2 separate regions of the Homo sapiens genome follow, and region 1 is linked to region 2. Evidence: promoter capture Hi-C in 16 types of primary human blood cells and fetal thymus (Javierre and others, 2016). All regions are on one chromosome and are shown on one strand. The core of a region is centred on a gene start or on the middle of the fragment in contact, and the rest is flanking DNA. Distances in the headings are between cores, read along the strand shown. Region 1 overlaps ADAM12 (ADAM metallopeptidase domain 12). Region 2 holds the start of C10orf88 (chromosome 10 open reading frame 88).

Region 1 (6,990 bases), core at 1,161-3,660, 3.1 Mb after region 2:
CCTATGGTTAAACCTTGGTTATCTGAAACAAAACACATGGGGCTCACAGAAGGAGGCAGTTACAATGAAATATGGGAGGTATCAAGTTGTGACGTTTATGGCAAAGTGAACTCTGAAGCAACAGAAATGAAGAGAGTACACCCGTGAGTGATGTACTAATAAACTGTCTTACTTCAGATGCCATGTTTGAGGTTCAATCTATGTTACCATCATTCATTTCTGACAACTCTAGAACTTGCTAAACAGGAATATATAGTCGGGTAGGTGGGGTGATGGTCTGGACCACGCAGGTTCCCTGAGGCGTGACAACGGCACAGTGGACCATGGTAGCCACAGAAGGTAGCAGGGAGCCATCACTGAAGCCTCACTGGAATCACAGCCATCCCCAGGCTCAAATGTTTCCAGTCCCCAGCACAGATTTGCCATTCCAAAGTGCTTTTCTTTACTCATTCTGTAGTTGGGTTCTGCTTTATCTCTTTTCGTGTTTTTAAAAAATGAATTGCTTTCTTGCTGGACATCTCAAAGTAGATAGTGAAAAAAGAGAAAGAAAACTCATTTAAATGAAACACCCATGGGTTTTGCTTTGTTATGTTGGGGACTTAAAAACACAGCCTTTGTGGGGGAAACCCTTTTCCTGGGAGGAAGCTATTTTCTCTATGAAAACATCTTCTTTTCTATGACCTGCTGCCATTTTGTTTAATACAGTTAAGAGCCTCCTCAAGGGTAGGGAAAGGAAGGAAAAAAATCAAACCATCAGGTTGGTTTCTTACAGTAGCTATGGTCAGCGGCTGTCTGGGAAGGACTCTAAATGCTCAGACTTAGAGGAGGTCTACCTGTGATTTCAACTGGACAGTGAATTTTTAGAGGACAGGGATCTTGATTCATTTGTCTTCCCATCAGCAAGGATCAGGGTGTACTTCACATCAGGTAAGTGTGCAACAGTCCTTTCCGGCTGCTGGTGATCGCCGTGATGCAGTTACCTGGGCTCTCCTCGGCCCTGCCTCCCACCTGGACCCTCAGCTGGCTGTGGATCACTGCAGCAGCAGCTCCTACTCCAGGGAAAGAATGTCTTTCACACCTTCTTGGTTTCTGGACCCCATCCCCCACTAACAAGGCCTATCAGGGATGTGTCTTAGCCTAAGCAAGACAGCCAACAGATGACAGTCTTGACTTACTTGTTGGTGTTACTGGAAAAGCATTGCTTCTGGTTTCCTGGGCAAAATGTCACTCTTTTCAGACCCTTAGTAGTGATCACAGGGGGCTCTAGCTAGAGTTCTGGTGTCTCATAACAAAGTTAATTAAAGTTAATTTAAAAAGTGAACAGCAAAAATCTTGAACTATAATTTCTAGTTCCATAAAGTGAATCCATAAATCTTCAATACATCAATCTATGAAACTGAACATTTACAGGGCCCCCACACTGAACCTGCTGAACTCCCCAGGGTTGCTCAAGCCAGAGGCCCGGGCAGTGACTGACTCCATTTCCCTCTTCCCCAGGACCAGCACGAGCACCGTGTCCTGTGTCCCCTCCTGTTGGCCCAGTCCGCACTCTAGAATCTGAGCCCAGGCCAGTCCACACTCCTCTAGATCTTCGCACAGCCAGCTATCTCGGCTTCAGAATGCATGTTTCCCTCGCCCCCTTCAGACCTCAACAGATGCAGGGTCCCCAGGAGCCTTCCTGACAACCCCCTGCCGCTCTGTGGGGGTTGCTCCCCTCCCATGATGCCCTCTCTCCCTGCAGTCGTACCCCTCACTTATGCCATGTCATTCTTGCTTAATGTCTCTCCAGGACCCAGGAGAGTGGCTGGTGTGTGGCAGACACACAAGTACTTGTTTAATGAGCCCCTGAGCCATGGCCAGGCCAGGGAGCAGTGAGCCATGCTTGCTCATGGCCTGCCTTGATTTTATATATGTATGAACAGGGTGGAGGCAGCGGTATTTCAAATGCACTCTATTTTATGCAGTAATGGCCACGGGGGATGGAGTTAGGCTCTTACATTGTTTTCACTTTTTAACATTCTTACTTGTTAAATGAAGGGTTGGTGACTCTGTGGGTTCCCTGGCTTTCTGCAAACCCTCAAACCTGAGTACTGCTGGTCACGCATGTCCACAGCAAAGAGCCAGAGTTCACCGCCCTTTCTCCTACCTTCTTCTCCAGTTTGTTTCATTGCCATTCAGTTTGCTTGGATGGAGATGGAATGGGTGGCAGGGTCTCTGATAAATTAAAAACTAAAACCCTGCTATTTTCATATAATAAATGCTAAAAGCCATATCAGAGCATTAAGTTGCAGCCAGAGACCAGTCATCAGGGCTGCCAAGGCTGAGGTGTCACTGGGGAAAGGGGACACTGGGCCCAACCCTTGCTTCTCCCCCACTGCTGTGGAGGCTCAGTGAAAGGCCAGACTTTTGAGTCCTCTTCCTCCTTGCTGCAGGGCTGGGGCCTGCCAGAGTGGTAACCTGCTACTCTCTCAGGAGCAGCACTGAAGCATGTCCATGTTTTAGCAGAAGCTCAACCAGGAAGTCGCTGCCCTTCCTTGCACTGTTTCTGCAGACGTGCCTGGTAGGCTGGACTTCCCCTCCTGAGCCCCGAGAACTGTGTTGTGTCTGTTGTCATGGAAACGATGGCAAAGCCACAGAGTCAATGCTGCCAGTCACAGGAGGCCTTGGGGACGCGTGACCTCCTCTGCAGCAGCACTGGTCACGGTCTCCATGTCATGGGAGGGCTCAGATGAGTGTCAGTGAGGCAGTAGACGCATGCTCCTGCGATCCCACGGGCTCCTGGCCCTGGCCGCGCTCCCTGTTGGACTCTGCAGCTTCCTGCCTTGCTTCTTTCCCTCGAAAAGAGGCATCATTTAGACTTGCCCCTGAATTGCCCAATAAGAACTCAGAGAAAACAGCACCGCACCAGTAAACCATTTCTAAAGGTCATCCGAGGAGAAATGGCCACGAGTTCAAGCACAGCTGCTACTAAGAGCTTCTTGGGGGACAGGCAGACCTGTGTGTGTGTAAATCTTAGCGAGATCACATTAGGCAAATTACTTAACTTCCCTGAGCCTCAGGTCCTAGGTATGTGAGAAAAGAATCATACCACCTTCTTCAGAGTTGTATAAGGAGGGGATGACATCATGGGCATAAAATGCACCACACAGCACCTGCACACATCATTCCATATGCAAAAGCTGTTGCAATGACTCCCACTGCTGCCGTGACTGTCACCTTTACTAAGAGGTGGGTGTCTTTCCAGTAAGATTTTTAAAAGGCATTAAACTTCACACCTTGTCACCCTACCACACAGATGTCGGCCTTTACAAAGTACTTTGATACAGTGATGACATTCATACCCATTCAGCAGTTCACTATAGAAATGACCTTAGTTAAGAAAAGTGTCGCAGGCTAAGGAACTGGCAAACTCAGCCACTCAGTCAAAGCAGAGAGCAAGGAGCCTCAGAGAAGATCGGGCAGGGATGAGAGGGGCATCTGGAAACTGCGGGAGACCCTAGGCTGTGTAGACCCATGTGGGGTCCCCACTGGGTTTCTTGTTGGCTCTACCTGCACCCATGCTGACAGCTGGCGAGCCCACCCGCCCCCAGGTGCTCAGCCTCCTCCCACCGGGATGCAGGGGCTTCACTGACCTGCTTGCCGGATGGGGCCGCTGTCTGTGCTTCCTCCAAAGCCAAACTTGTCACAGAAGGGAGGTGCCCAGTGGGCCTCGCAGTGGCAGTTCTTCCTGTTGTTGCACACCTTTCAGGGCAGAGGGGAGGGACGTGGGGTTAGGGCATATGCTCTGTGCATCACCACAGCAGAAGCAAGGGGGGCCATGGTCAGAGCCCCCCCCCAACACTGACACAGCCAGACTCAGCACACGCCATGGTGCGAATAAGCCCAAAGCCGGCACTACACACCACACAGGGGCGACCAAACCTGAGGCTGTGAAGATGCATCATCTGCCTATTAGTGGCTGTAAAGAGAGTGATGAAGATTATTTGGGTTCATCAGCTTGCCTCCCCCACCCACCTCACTTCCTTCTCCATCTCCCCATCTTCCTTTTTCAATCTGGAAAACTGTCTGACCATGAGGAGAAGCCCCCTCAGCAGTGAGGAGGGACCGTGCTTTGGGGCTACAGACCCAGAGCCCTGGGGCACCGCGGGACCTGACAGATGCTTGGCGCATCCCTGTCTCCTTCAGACAGAAGGCTCAGAGAGGCTGGTGACTGCCGGGTCCCACGCCAGGCTGGGGTCCGAGGCAGGCCCCCCGTTTCCTGAGCAAAGGAATCCTGTTTCCTGCAATCCTAGCAGGGTGCATGGGATTTCCACTAATACTTCCTGAAGCCTGTCCCCGTGTGTCCTTCCTGCAACGCCTGCCTCCTTCTTGCAGAGGTTCCCAGTGGCTGTTCCCTGGCTCCCAGTCACGCACCAGGGTGCGAATCCAACAGTGGATTCTTTTCATTGTGAAATAAGAGAATGGTTCTGGCACGGCGGGAAAGGGAGACCAAGAAAGCCCGAGGAGGCTGTGCTTCACCCTTGTTGGGCCCAGCTCATAGACCAGAGCATTCCATGCAGGGGCCAGCAGCCCCTGCCCACCTGGTTACCAAGGGCTACTGATGGCGGCCACTCCCAAGCCTGTCCATGCTGGTTGGACTCGCTATTATGCCAGATGTAACTAACTGAAAGTACATGATCCAATGGAAGATGACCATGAAGATGATATATATTTAATATATTTTTTTCTATGAAAATTAGGTTGTCAAGTCCAGGCACGGTGGCTCATGCCTGTAATCCCAGCAAGTGGGAGGCCAAGGTGGGCAGATCACTTGAGGCCAGGAGTTCAAGACCAGCCTAGCCAACGTGGTGAAACCCTGTCTTTATAAAGATAAAAAAAAAAAAAGTTAAAAAAAATTAGGTTGAATCCTTTGGGAACACTGGATTAAAAAAGAGAAATCACTAAAAGAATTTCTGAAAAATTAGGAATGAGTGGGACTACTGCACAATGATTGGGAAGAGCTGCAGAGGACAAGGAGGAGGCTGTTCTTGGATGCTGTTGAGTGTCTAAGGTTCCCTTCCACAAAAAGAAACGAACTAGAAGTTGTTGATGATGCATTTTTGGGTGGTTTATATCAGGAAGTCGATGCACAATGACATTCAGTAAATCAATCCTAAAGGCCTCAGCCCGCCATCAAAATATGGCTGCCAGATATACAGTTTCATATTTTAAGGCAAAATAAAATGCGTAGAGTATATGTCTCCCATGTAATGCTTTCCTGCTTCAACCGACTTGTTTTGATGAATCAACCACCTACCCTCATTGCTTCAGATAAGAAGGCCGACTGTCAAGATAGGCTTTAATAAGTTAGAAAGTAGACTGCTATAAAGCAGAAATTGAGTAGAACTTGTCAGCAAGTGGCAGAGCCTACGTCAAATGTAAGTGTCTTGCCTGTCCCCTCAAAGATGCTGCTGTGGACGTACTAGCCCCAGATTCATGCCTGCCCCTCATGGCTTCTCTCTGCAACTTGTGGTCATGCGCCTTGTTTTAAAACCCACAGGAAGGTGCTGCCGGGAGCCTGCCCTTGTTAGGGTGGGACTGTGGCCAAGCTACCCTTCAGCAAGGCTGGGTAGGCTCCACCTACCCAGCAAATGCGGGCCTCTCCGCTCCCATGTGTGGATAAGGCCAAGGGGTATTGGAAAGGGAGTGGTCCAGGGTCCTCAACCAGCTTGCAGCTTGCCGGCCATATTACCTTGGGCACACCATCCCCACAGCTCAGGGCCTGGCTTCTTCAGTAAAATAATAGGACTGGACTTGATCATCTCTTAACAGCCATCAGAAAATAATCTATGATCCAATGAAGACATAAGAAGATTCCATTGTATATTGGGAGTTAGCTAACCTTACCGTCAACACCCCCATCTGAGGTGACACTGTGATCCTTTATGGTTCCAGCATGATGGTAATTTACAACCCCCTCCCCCCATGCACCCGGTAATTCTGTGTAAGAATCATTGGCAAGTGTCTACAAGTTTTAAAATAAAGAATTTGGAGCAGGATTTCTGTAGGAAAGGTTTCAGGAAAACAAATGAACCTCTGGTGTGGTTAATCAAGACTAATATGATTCCATTGGAAATAAGCCCATCAAGAAAAATAAATTATGTTTTCAGCAATTAGAGTCCTCTTCTACCCTAAAGGTTCTCTGAACTAAAATAACAGCCTTCTTTAGTTGAAACCCATTGTGTGTGATTTCAAGAACATGTGTTTAATATGATCTGTTGTCCTTGTTTTAATTCCTTTTGGAAATATTTCAGTTCAGACACTGGTTCTGAATGTTGGTAGTAAGAGGAACAGCACAGTTTGAAATGTTATTTTGAAACTCTTCATGAAGGAAGGTTGCTTTTCAAATTACTTTGAACAACAAAAGTCTTTTTTAAAATCATAGAATGTTAATTTAAAAGGTAATTACAGCTCAGTCTGATTTTCTTTGTTAAATAAAAGTCACATGAAAAGGTCAAAAGAAATGAATACCTTTAGAAGAAAATATTTCAAACACAATAACTGCTCTATTTAAAAAATGCTATGGATTGCAAAACCTTTTACAAATGAATGTATTATTACTTAACTTGTTATGGGCTGGCTGTAAAAGGGCAGCTCAGCCTACTCACCCCTCTGCCGTGGCACTGCATTGCACACTCGTGAACCCCAAAGACACTAATATTTTGACATTGACGATTCAGGCAGATCTGTAGGAGGAGGAAAACACAGCAAATCTCTTAGTATTTCTCCAACCCCTCCAGCATGCATACATACCTGTATTCAAACAAAAAGCAAGCAAAAGAAAGCTTGGAGAAGACCCAACCTTGTCTCAGTTAATACGGATGGAGCATAACAATACATTTTATACTGGACTCAGGCATGGATCTTATTGCCTGACTCCTCCAAACTCAGCACATTTTGAGACTAAGTTCAATGTCAACACTATTAAATTATTTTGCATTTTATGGCTTT
Region 2 (6,753 bases), core at 2,162-4,661:
GGTTTTAGAAGCTATTTAATATATACTATCCAAAACAACATCTTGGGATAATCAGTCCTGTGAGTTTGCTATCTGCCTGTAAAAATCACTTATTTTTTCTTATTGTAAAAATAGGTTTCAATCTTCTATAAGTAATGATAATAAGTACAGAAGTTTAGAGATAAAAAGAATCCAAGAATTTTCTTCAGCTCTCTAATTTTACCCATGAGATAGGTCCAAAATCTGCCCAAGACTAATCCACTAGTCAGGACAGAACTGAATTAGCATTCAGGGCTTAAGACTTCCAATCCATTACCTTATCCCTAGACTCTGAAGACATAACTAACAGTTACCTTAACAATATTTTTCATGCTGAAGACAACAGTCCAATCCCTTTAACTTATTGGTTCTCTTGCTTGAAACTTCTCTAATTTTGTTCTTTTATAAATGGGTTTTTGCCATCACAGTTTATATAGTTTTTAAAAATGTTTTTTGCTCAATTTCCCAACACTTCAAAATACACAGCACTACCATATTAACAATACATTATCCAAGGTTAATAAATAGTCAAATTTTATTTTTATTATTTTTTTAGTGAGATGGGGTTTCACTCTGTTGCCCAGGTTGGTCTTGAACTCCTGGGCTTGAGCAATCCTCCCACCTCAGCCTCCTGAGTAACTGGGATTATAAACATGTACCACTGCACGTGGCTCATGGTTAAATTTTAAGAGAAAAAGTCTACTCACTGGTCACCGGGTGAAAAATTTAAAAAAAAAAAAATTTCTTAATTCAATGTTAAAAAGGGCTGATAATTTTTTAGAAAAGTAATTTCTTTGTACATGTTTACTAAGTATTTCTGAGCCTCATCTCTACTAAAAATTTAAAAAATTTGCCAGGCATGGTGGTGTATGCCTGTAGTCCCAGCTACTTGGGAGGCTGAGGTAGGAAGTTAGCTTGAGCTGGGAGATGACGTTGCAGTGAGCCATGATTGTCCCACTGCACTCCAGCCTGGGCAACAGAGCAAGATACTGTCTTGAAAAGAAAAAAAAAAGCAAGCAAGCAAGTTGGACTAATTGTATTACTAATCCAAAAGAAAACAAGCATACACAGAGTACAAAAACAACTTAGTTGTCAAATTAGTTTACAACTGACAACTTACCTTTATTTTACAAGCATGTGTGGAGGACTCCAATTTTAGATTTTTTTTATACAAAATGATCTTTTCATGTTCACTAAAAATAAAAAAGAATTAATTTTTTTTACTTACATATATTGTCACTTTTAATAGTTACACTTAAAAATAAATGTTTCCAGAACAATATTGAAATCCTAAGATTCAGTTTTCCTGGTGAGGCATGAAGAGTTGGGCTCCATAACTGAAGCACACTGCCTATGATTACATCTACCACTTACTAGGCTCAATGAGAAAATTACATTATATAACATATGTACAACCATGTAGCCAGACTGTATTTTAAAGCTCAATAAACACAGCAATTGTTTCCAACATGCAGGATATAAAACAGTTCATATTTTGTGTTAAAGACAGATTGGAGAAAAATCTTCGTAAGAAAAAAAATCACAAGTTGCGTTACAGGTTAATAAATAGGTTTATGTAGCACAGTCTTAGATCCCTCCACCATTTCTAATAGGCTTCCAAGAAGAAAATGTATTCAAAGTTCCAGACTGACTACCAAATTAACTTTCGGAAGACAGACTGCTGTGAGTTTAAGGAAAGAGACACACTTCTCAAAATTTCATTCTAATAAAACTCTTCCACTAACTAGCTATGACCTCCTACCAATTCACCTTGATTGTTAGTTCTAAATTTCAACATTTATAAAAATAACTAGGCTGATCTACACTGTCTTTTAAGATCTCTAAAGTTGTAAACTTCTATGCCTACTGGCACATTTTTATCTTCTCTCCCATAACATATGGTATCAATATCAGAGAATCAATAATTATTGCAAAAAGTGAGAAAAATCAAAACACTACTTCAGAAGAACACTTTCCCGTGTACAAGTCACACACCTGTCATCCAGGACAGTACAAACATTCTTGCCCCTACTGGTTCCACAGTACTCCTCTCCTAAGTACACTTCCATATTTCTTGCTGAACTTAAAATGCCAATAGAAGCGATTTCTTCACCTCCATCAGGGCCACACCTCAGGTAAAGGAAGCAGGGGTTTTCATCTTTGTTGTTGTGGTTTCTCTTCAAAATCACCAGATCCTGACTGAGAAGAAAATTGGTGAAAACATCACACAGTATAGTTCTCTGAACATGACTCTTCTTTTTTGAGACGGAGTCTGGCTCTGTCGCCCAGGCTGGAATGCAGTGGCTCCATCTCGGCTCACTGCACGCTCCGCCTTCCGGGTTCACGCCATTCTCCTGCCTCAGCCTCCCAAGCAGCTGGGACTACAGGCACCCGCCACCGCGCCCGGCTAATTTTTTGTATTTTTCGTAGAGACGGGGTTTCGCCGTGTTAGCCAGGATGGTCTTGATCTCCTGACGTCGTGATCCGCCCGCCTCGGCCTCCCAAAGTGCTGGGATTACAGGTGTGAGCCACCGTGCCCGGCCGGGGCTTCTTTCTTCTAACTCACTTCCACTTGCCCTTGAGGTCCAAGCACCTTCCCAAGCATCCAAGAAGCGCTCAACACAGAATTCATACGGAAATGAAGGTGTCACACATCAGGGCTTTCCCAAACTCTATTTTTTCCTCAATCAACATTCTACTCAATCCCCTGCAATTGACTCTCGGATAATTACATAAATCACTGGGCACCTACTGGGTGCAGGGCACAATGAAAGACAAAAGTGTATCTTTTTCGAAATTAAGTCGACAGCGATCATCTATAGCTGGACTTTTTACACAGCCTGTTTTGGTGGACAGGAGGTGTCTTGTTTGAGGGTAGAGGGGCGGACTGACTTTGACAGCAGCCCTGAGGGGCTATCACGCCTGATGGGGACGTTATATGAAATTCCGAGTCCGGGTCACCTTCCCCCTCTCACGCCCAGGAGCCTCGGCCCCTTCCCGGCCGGACCCACCCCCCTCCGCCCACCCCGGACGACCTCGCAGCTCCCCTCCCCAACTAGAGACCTGGTACCAACTGCTCTCCCGGATCCCGGGCTCAGACCCTCTCGCCTCCCCTCACAGCTCCCCTAGAAGCGCGGCAGTTGCCGAGCATAGCGACCCCGTCCCCGTCGGCCCGGCGCACCCTGGAGCAGGCGGTGCCAGCAGCTCCTCCCAGTCGAAGTCACCGGGGCCGAGACCGGCCCGGGTGAGGAGGAGGCTGTGGGTCAGGGCCCCGCCTGCAACATCCCAAGAAGAGGCCAGCGTGGGGCGGCGGGTGAGGCCCCCGTCCTCGGTCCGCGTCTCCATTCCGCCGCCTTCAGTCAGGCCAGCCCAGCCCCGGAACCTCTCTTCCAGTGCTTGAATTTCCGCCGGTACAGCGTGGAAATGGGCAGGCAAAGCGACTTCCGGCTCACTCCGCTTCAAGTACCCGCCGCTTCTTGCTTTGGTGGGGAGAGCAGGCACCAGAGACACGCATGCGCATGTGCCAGCTGGCCTCAGGCGCGGCGTTCAAAGTGTGCGGGGAGGAGGTCGAGAGCGGAGCATGCGCACTGGCAGACCCTTGCTCTTTCGCTGGAGACTATGCGCAGGCGCGGTGCACTGCGCGCCGGCACGAGGGTGTTTTCGACGTTGGCTGTGGGGAAACAGCAAGCGGCGTGGACGACCGTTGCTGAGCTGGTGTGGAACGTCTGTGATCAGGTAGGTGTAGTCTCGTCGCTCTACGCTGCGTGCAAGACCGACTCCTGACCTCGTTCTTTCCCAAGGGGACGCCAGGGCCTTTTCTGCTTCCATTCCGTCGGATCTGCAGCATTTGTGGCAGCTAGCGCGGCGGACGCGCTGCCGATTCGGGTTATTTTTACTTCGAATTCTCCTAGCCTCCCTCACACATATTCTCGCTTTAGAGGGGGGCTGAAGCGGATGATGGGGTTTTGGGGTTGAAGGGCATCTGTGATGGGCATTGAGCCACGCTGGCCTTCGCCGGGTGCTGTCTCAGCTGACGCCCCCTGACCCCATGTGCAACCCTCAGGCCGCAGGAACCCGGGCATCCAGGGCTGGACGCTCTAGGTGACAGAAATTTGAAATGCAAGAAAGACCCAGACACCGAAGGCAGGGGCTGCCCCATGAGATCGCTCCTCATGGCACTGGAAACAGCGAGTGGAAAGGGGGGGTCTCAGAACTCTGTTGAAGTAGAATATGAACTCAGTCTTGAAGGAACTTAAGGCTACGGATGCAGAACAGTGGGAGCAGATGGAACTTTCTAGATGCCCCACGGGATGGGACTGTATATAGTGTGCCCCCTCATCCTCCTCCTGTAGAGGCTTGTGCAGATTATTTTTCTGTCTTTTGAAAAAAGCAAACTCTGAAATTCCACTTGTCTATAATCTAGAGTTCCAAAGTTGTGTTTAAGGTGGTATCCTCTCTAGGAAATAACGTTTTTGCTCACCCATACTCTAATTTTCTTTCAGAGCTGTCTATTCTGGGTTCATGACTCAGTGCGCATTACTTTAATCTTTTTGCTTATGTTTTCGTTTGAGTTTATGTACTAGGACTTGTGCCCTCTAGCTAAAAATGAGAATAAACTTTGCATTCTGTTTACCTGTGTCAAAGCAAGAAAAATGATGACCAAATGTATTTTTCTATAAGTAATCACCAGAATGTACGTATGGTAGGTGAATTCACCAAGATTGAAAGAGAGAAATGTCACCAAAGGTCTATCATAGCAGAATTGTAAAGTCCTCGTTTGCAAAGATTTTTTTAATATTTCAGACTCATTCTAAGTTGTCCTTGTCATTATTTTTGTCCTGTATGTCCTGCTTCCTGTGGTTGTAAGTTAACTTTGATCCACATTAATACATGTGGACAATCCGAAGGAAAATAGGCTCTTCAGAAACTAATCTGCAATTTCATGAGCAATAGCAATATTATAAACTGGATTTTGACTTCCTTAAATAAAGCTGAATGTCCAGGAATCAGAAAACAAAAGATTCCTATGGTCTATCCTTTCCTTTATTTCCATACAGCCAATAAACCACCAAGTCTTCATTTTCTTAAAGAAAAATTTTCCTATCTCTGCTTCTTCTGTTTCCAAGCACTAGCTTTATCTGAACAATTCCAGGAGTTTGTCAGTAGCTTTCATTTTGATTCCTTCCATTTCAGTCTTTGCACTGCCCTCTTCTCCTTCTGGTGATCAATGTTCCTGACTGAATCAACACCTTCACTCCTTAGCATAGCATGCAGAGTCCTTTGTACTTTGAACCCTGCCTACCTTCCAGTTTCCTCTACCTAGAATGCCATTTTTTTCAATAGTAGGAAAAATCCTATTTATCATGCGAAACCAAGCTTACTTCATCCTGCTACAGAATTAAACAAATTCCTCTGTGCTACAATTACCACTTTTTTAGGTAGTATAATTCTCCTTTGATGTCAGACTTTGCCTGTTTATATATCTGTGTTCCCTACTATCTGCATGCTTGCTGAGATAGACATTATGTTGAGTACAGGTTTGTTGTATGGAATTGATAGGTTGGTGACAGCTTTTATCACATAAACTAAGAGCAGCAGAAAAAGGAAAATTAGTACATTCAATCTTAAGCTTTTTTCCAAAGCCAGGATGGTTATGGTTCAAAGCTGACTTCAATCTTAATATGATACATTATTCTTGTCATGAATTACAAGTGAGTTTTTTGCTTTACTTTTCTCTTTGAAGTAAATCAGAAAATATAGTTGGTGATATGGTTGGCTGTGTCCCCACCCAAATGTCATCTTGAATTGTGGCTCCCATAATTCCCACTTGTTGTGGGAGGGACCCCGTGGGAGATAACTGAATGGTGGGGGCAGTTTCCCCCATACTGTTCTCGTGGTAGTGAATAAGTCTTGGGAGATCTGATGGTTTTATAAGGGGAAGCGCCTTTCGCTTCGCTCTCATTCTCTCTTTCCTCTGCCTTGCTCTTCTGCCATGATTGTGAGGCCTCCCCAACCAACCACATGGAACTGTGAGTCCATTAAACCTTGTCTTTATAAATTACCCAGTATCAGGTATGTCTTTATCAGCAGCGTGAAGATGGCTAATACAGTTGGAAATTTCCCACCAGTAATGATATGCAAGAACTCAATATTTAGGAGCATATTTCAAATCTGTTTTCAGAATATGAGCCAACGCACATTTGAAAGGTACATTTTAGAAAAAAGTAACTTAGGATACTAATTTTCTTGAGCACATTCATTTAGTAATGCCACAGTTTAGATGTTTTGACTATCTTAAGTAGATTGAGTTCTTACTATATATGCCCTGCCTTTTACACAGGAGTATACTTCCCAGCAAGGTGGTTATAGGAACTTAACTTCCTTCTCAGGACCACTTGAGTTGTACCTTCTCTCCTCCTTTCCCTCTCTTCTGGTCCTTGCAGGTCCCACAGTTGCCAGGAATTCCTTCTCACCCTGCCTCAATACAGGGCCTGCAATTTTAACAGAGTGGAAAAGAACAACCTTCCTATCTTTTTCTCCCAACTTCATTTATAGCTGCTTTCTACCTCATTTTAACTAGAACCTCTGTTCTAGTTAGAAACATTGTTAGACTGTATATCATTTTCAATACAACCTTTCTGAGGAAATGTAGAAATGCTGCAGAAGCTCTCGAACTAGAGCTGAATCTGTGCCCGCATCCATGATTATCACCTGTATGACGCTTTCTTATCCTAA

What was found. The method cuts DNA at HindIII sites, captures the fragments that hold promoters and counts their contacts. A CHiCAGO score of 5 or more calls a contact.
Region 1: a contact is called between a fragment that was not itself captured here and the fragment with the promoter of C10orf88 in region 2, in 1 of 17 cell types (monocytes). The highest score is 5.3, in monocytes.

Annotation. Positions count from the first base shown.
Region 1 is chr10:126,039,408-126,046,397 of GRCh38, forward strand. It overlaps ADAM12 (ADAM metallopeptidase domain 12), which reads right to left. Exons shown (of 23, transcript NM_001288973.2): 17 at 6,648-6,725; 18 at 3,633-3,741; 19 at 1-22. Among named protein-coding and RNA genes, the nearest start is that of FANK1-AS1, 70 kb to the left of the region's middle. RefSeq lists an enhancer at 3,507-4,164. The HindIII fragment of the contact is 8,824 bases long and covers 1-6,822 here.
Region 2 is chr10:122,950,816-122,957,568 of GRCh38, forward strand. C10orf88 (chromosome 10 open reading frame 88) reads right to left here and starts at 3,412. Exons shown (of 6, transcript NM_024942.4): 1 at 3,200-3,412; 2 at 2,014-2,217; 3 at 1,139-1,211. The coding sequence starts at 3,363. LOC124902519 (a long non-coding RNA gene) reads left to right here and starts at 3,627. Exons shown (of 2, transcript XR_007062325.1): 1 at 3,627-3,753. RefSeq lists a silencer at 3,128-3,207. The HindIII fragment of the contact is 5,860 bases long and covers 1-5,392 here.